2 separate regions of the Homo sapiens genome follow, and region 2 is linked to region 1. Evidence: promoter capture Hi-C in human tissues and cell types (Jung and others, 2019). All regions are on one chromosome and are shown on one strand. The core of a region is centred on a gene start or on the middle of the fragment in contact, and the rest is flanking DNA. Distances in the headings are between cores, read along the strand shown.

What was found. The method cuts DNA at HindIII sites, captures the fragments that hold promoters and counts their contacts. A contact is called where the count stands out against the background at its distance.
Region 2: a fragment that was not itself captured here is called in contact with the fragment with the promoter of DNAH5 in region 1 in 1 of the 25 tissues and cell types used here (H1 embryonic stem cells).

Annotation. Positions count from the first base shown.
Region 1 is chr5:13,943,203-13,946,201 of GRCh38, forward strand. It overlaps DNAH5 (dynein axonemal heavy chain 5), which reads right to left and starts at 1,486. Exons shown (of 79, transcript NM_001369.3): 1 at 1,180-1,486. The coding sequence starts at 1,236. The HindIII fragment of the contact is 17,200 bases long and covers 1-2,999 here.
Region 2 is chr5:13,757,088-13,760,086 of GRCh38, forward strand. It overlaps DNAH5 (dynein axonemal heavy chain 5), which reads right to left. Exons shown (of 79, transcript NM_001369.3): 61 at 1,759-1,896. Among named protein-coding and RNA genes, the nearest start is that of DNAH5-AS1, 100 kb to the right of the region's middle. The HindIII fragment of the contact is 3,083 bases long and covers 1-2,999 here.

The DNA of each region.
Region 1 (2,999 bases), core at 236-2,735:
TTTAATTCATTCAACTTATTCCACAAGCATATATTAAGGACCAAGCATATACTATGGACCAAGCTCTGTGTTAAAGGAAGATTATTTTAAAATGGAGAGAACTCGCAATCTAGCAAGAGAAAGAGACATGTGGGTAAATGTCATTTCACTACAGTGATGTGACAAGGACTCTATAAGACATCGAAGGAAAGTGCTGACAGGGTACAGGAAGGAAACTCACACCTCCTCCTCAAAGTGTCAGGGGACGCTTCTCAGAGGAGGTAACACTAGCACTTGGTCTTGAAGAATAAGCAGTGCATGGACTGGCTGGAGTCAGCTCTTCCAGAATGGTCTTCTAACTCTAGCAAGCAAGTTCAGGGGCTTGGCTGCAAGACGTTCACCTTGGGAAGGATGCATCAGAATCTTGTGGCTTGGGCAAGTGAGGGGTGGCAGATGGTGGCATACTTAAAAAATTCAGAGGTAGATGCCTGCTCTTTTGTGGTAAAAACAACAGGCTAGGGGGGATCATGTGAGCTTCTGGGGATACACAAAAAGACACAGTGATCAAGCCCAGTAGGAAGCATGGGTTAATGGTTGAGAACTGAGTCCTAGAGAAACCTCCAATTTCTTCTGACGTTAATTGGCAGTGGAAGAGGTTTCCAAATCCCTCTCTATGCATTTGCATAATAAAAAGCTGCTGAGCTGAGCCCTGTGCTAGGGAAGTTCATTCTTCAATGTGATTTCCAAAGGCACAGCCTTGCATCTCACTGTCTGTGACCTCATTTGCAGGCATATAGAACAGGGGAGTGATTTCAAAGCCTAAACCTTGCAGCCTAGAATCTGCCTTAACTATTTCTAATCACCAACTAAAGTTTACAGGTTTGAAAGAATACAAAGTGCCCAAACCACTATGAATGTGTTTTTGACCCCAGGAAAGCATCTTCCCAAAAGATGCAGCATGAATTTCTAGGTGCGTAGTTTAAGCGGCAACGTGCAGAAAAGCCTACAGATGCAAAATTTTTTTTATTTAAAAAATGAATATGTAGCCTATGCACCAGGTGAACATTAGTTAAAAAATGTGTTTCTCGCAAATTCATCAGTGTGTGACTTTGAACCTTTTTCAAGTTTGTTTTTTCCACCCAGGTGTGACAGATGATAATCCAAAACACACATGCAAAGGTACAGACAACAGCACCTTACCGTTAAAACTCGAGTGACGCTATGCTTCCAGAGCTGTCTCCTCCCAATCCTAAACATTGTAGCCGTGCATGGACAGGCTGGAGTCAGCTCTTCCGGAATGGTCTTCTAACTCCTGGCAGACCTGCTCAACATCCAACAGGCTTCCAAATGGAAAGTTTTACTTCCATTTTACTTTCACGTTTCTAATTTGCATGTATTATTCACTACATTCACAGAATAAAAATTAAAACTCCACTTATACCACTCAAGTTTTTCTCCTAGAGTGTCTGCCCTGGGCCTCTCCTCTCTCTCGAAGCCTGGTGTTGTTAGGGTAATATTGTTTATACACTATACAGTTGAACCATGCCTCTTAATCATGTTTATCAAGCAATCAAAGCATTTTAACTGCTCGGTAGCAACACAACTCCTTCTGTTGTTCAATTAATTCTATTCACTGCCCAATAATAAGCATTGAGTCAACAGTGATATCTAAATAGTTTCTTTGAACAATGAGAAACTTTAAACCATATCAGATTAGAAATCCAAGAAGCCACAGCTCTGAATATATTGTCCATGTCGAGAAACTCAGTCTTACTTTGTGTAAACAACTTTGCAAGCACGATGCACTGCCAGCATTGTGACTAATTGTGACTAATTGCCAGATAGGCTAATTGTGACCCATAGGAGCCATTTTCTCCACCACAAAGAACAAGAAGTCTGTTTCATATGCAAATAGCAAACCATGTCCATAAATTACTTGTGCTCACACAGTTGCACATACACTTCAGCCAAGGTAATTTATCCTATGTGGCTAAACATCTTGATCATCTTAACTGTGAAGATGTAATGGGAAAACACTGCCAAATGCTTTGAGAGATCTCTCATGTATGGTTTCTCCCATCGAGTTGAATAAAAGGCAGGACACTTAAGGTTGGTCTTGTTGAATCTAGAATTTAGTCCTTGGAATTCACAGTCCAGCAACTCAAATCCTAAAAGGTCATCCAAGGATAATCAGGAAATTGGGAACTCATCCTGGTAACATCCTGCTAGTCAACCTCTGTGGAGCCTGACTTGGAAGGCAGGGTGCTGACATGGTTTCAGAACATGGAGATTCACTTGGTCCATATCCAATGCTAGGGCACGGACGGCCTCCATATGTCAGGTTAACAGACAACATTTAGACCTCAATATTATTTGGTAAGTAAATAACTAGAACACAGGAAGTTTAAGTTTGTTTGCAGGATTTTTTTTTTCTTTTTTGAGACCTGCAGGTCTCACTCTGTCACACAGGCTGGAGTGCAGTTGCGTGACCACCACTCACCACAGCCTCAACCTCCCAGGCTCAGGTGATCCTCCCACCTCAGCCTTCCTAGTAACTGGGACTACAGGCAAGTGTCACAACACGCGGCTAATTTTTGTATTTTTTGTAGAAACAGGTTTGGCCACATTGCCCAGGCTGGTCTCAAACTCCTGGCCTCAAGCAATTGCCCACCTCGGCCTCCCAAAGTGCTGGGATTATACGCATGAGCCACCAGGCCAGGCCCTGCAGGATATTTGTTGAAGTCAACCTCTGGTTGTTGGTAAGCGGCTGTTGTCCGTTTCTAATAAAAAGTGTTGAAGACAGTATCTAGACTCTGAGTCCCTTCTCTGTGTGGTGCTGAAGACACCAGAAAATAGCAGTAGGATCGGATCCTCCTCACATGGCATCTCCTATCCATCCCAAGAATCCTCTGTCAACACATGACCTCAGGACAAACATGTTACAATTCATTACATCGCCGATTATCTTTCATTAGTTACATTTGAATCGGTGCTTCCCTAATGGTATTTTAGGCACCATC
Region 2 (2,999 bases), core at 223-2,722, 190 kb before region 1:
TCTTTATCCAGTCTACCACTGTTGAACATTTAAGTTGATTCCATGTCTTTGCTATTGTGAACAGGGCAGCAATGAACATATTCACACAGGTGGCTTTATAACAGAACGATTTATATTCCTTTGGGTATATATCAAGTAATGGGATTGCTGGGTCAATGGTATTTCTGTTTTTACGTCTTTGAGGAATTGCCACACTATCTACCAGAATGGTTGAACTAACTTACACTCTGACCAGCAGTGTATAAGCATTCTTTTTCTCCGCAATCTCACCAGCATCTGTTGTTTTTTGACTTTTTAATAATAGCCATTCTGACTGGTGTGAGATGGTAACTGATTGTGGTTTTGATGTGCATTTCTCTAGTGATCAGTGATACTGAGCTTGTTTTCATATGATTGTTGGCCGCATGTATGTCTTTTTTTGAAAAGTGTCTGTTGTAAAGAAAGCAAAAACTGACAAATGGGATCTAATTAAAATAAAAAGCTTCTGCACAGTAAAAGAAACTATCCACAGAGTGAAGAGACAACCTCTAGAATGGGAGAAAATTATTGCAAAATATGGATCTGAAAAAATCTTAATATCCAGGATCTATAAGGAACTTAAAGAAATTCACAATTTAAAAAAAATCTCATTAAAAGTGGGCAAAGGACATGAACAGACATTTTTCAAAAGTGCTACTTCTTTAAAGCTTCCAAAAGCATTTACTTTGCTTGTGGAAGACTTATCTTTAAGACATTATATCATACATTCTGCAGATATTGAAACTGAAATGTTTATCTAAACTCTTTTATTGGGACCCCTACAAAACTAACAAGGCAGGAATTTCAATTCGGCCAAGTAAAGGCTGAGAAGGGGTAGAGGTGAATTTCATAAAATTATCAAGGTAAAACAGAGTGAATCTAGCTATTATTTACCAAATATTGGATTTATCAGAGGCAGATACAGATTTTATTAAGCCAAAAGCTTATATACTCTAGAGAGACCACTTTGTAAAAAAAAAAAATCAGTATGTATTTAAAGTAAAAAAAAAAAAGTGACAAGATCCTGGTTACTTAGAAACTCAGGTACTTTTCCTCTGTGATCTCTTTAGGCATTTGACTTGAATGCTCTAAAGTGAGAACAAAGATAGGTAAGGCACTAGGGTGCCTTGGCTCACACCTGTAATCCCAACCTTTGGGAGGCCGAGGCAGGTGTATCACTTGAGCTCAGGAGTTCGAGACCAGCCTGGGCAATATGGTGAAAACTTGTCTCTACAAAAAATTAGCCAGGCATGGTGGTGCATGTCTGTAGTCCCAGCTACTTGGGAGGCTGAGGTGGAATGATCACTTAACCCCAGGAATTCAAGGCTGCAGTGAGCCATGATCATGCCATTGCACTCCAGCCTGGACGACAGAGCAATACTTTGTCTAAATAAATAAATAAATAAATAAACCCACCCTGCCTACCTTGCAAGTTACTTCAAAGATTAAATGAGATAAAAATGGGAGGACATGATTTGAAAAACATAACAAAAATGCTAGTACACAAGATGCTGTCATCACTACCAACACCACTAACAAAGAAACTCAGAATGGCTATGTTCCAGCACTGACAGCCATCTTGACTGACCATCCTGTTGTCTCATCAAAGACCCTTGGTGTCCATTATGTGCTATGTATGTATTATGTATAAATTCAGTGAAACCCCACAAGAACCCAAACTCTTGGAGAGAGAAGCCGTGTAGATATGTGACAGTCCCTGCCATGACAAAGGGCAGTTACCTGCTTTTCAGTCATGGCCTGTTCATACTCAGCCTGCACCACGTCAAGTTCCGCCTGCTTGTCATCCAACTCGGCCTGGGCTTTCTGCAGATCCTGCATGGCCAGGAGATGGCGATTCTCTTGCACCACCAAGTTGGCCTGCACAGGACACACACAGAGTGAAGAGATGGGCAGCCAACCTCAAAACATCCTGCATTTCAGGGTCTGAGAACTCAGCTAACGTCACATGTTTATACCTTTGCTTTGTTCCCGCTCCAGAATCCTTTCAAATCACATTAAGTCCTGAACAAATCTTAATGTGAACTTGACATAAATGTGTATAAGCAGAAAGTTACACTTCATTAGAAAGGAGGTCAGCAAATATTTTCTTTAAAGTGCCAGATAGTAAATATTTTGGGCCAAGAGGCAAAATCAAAATTATTGTTCATGTACTTATTTTAAAACTATTTAAACATGTAAAACCTACTCTTATTTCACAAGCCATCCAAATATAGGTAGTGGGCTAGATTTGGCCCACAGGCCATAGTCTACCTAGATCAGAACACTGTAATATTAAATGTATATAGGTAAATTATAAAACATGCTAATATTGAGAGTTGTAGAAAAAAACAATATTTAGAACTATCTGCCTAGCAGGACTCATCACTGTTGAGGAGTAATAAAGGATGTAAAATGATTATTTACTGAATATAAATATCTACGTTTTGTGTATCGTGGTGGTCTTGACATTGTTCCTGTCACTTTCATATATTTCTTGCCTTCTGGAAAGCGTATTTGATACCTTGAGCTGTGACTAATTAAAAATGTTTATTTTAAAGAAGCTATTAAGATAGAATCAAAAGACTTAACCAAAAGCAATATTAGCAAAAGATGAGATGTAAAAAAGTAGTTCATGCCTAAGAAATTTAGATCCTTTAAAATCATTTTTGAAACCAAATTTTTCCCTTTTAAATTTATAAAGTGTTAATATTGACTTTCATGGGATGACTAGAAGGCATATTCTTTCTGAAGTATTTGAGAAAAGATTATTTTTAAAACACTTTTGAAATAAATTATTTTCCTATCTCAAAACTTCAGGCTTCCAAATTTTGGCAGAATAAATCTTTAGGGAAAAACTCAAGAGTTCCATAATTGACTAGATCCAGTGATGGGCAAAAGCATCGCTTGTAAGTTACAATTTAAAAAGAACCTGACTGGTGGAACATTTTTTCCTCAGCTCTGCTGTAAGCTGCAACTGTTCC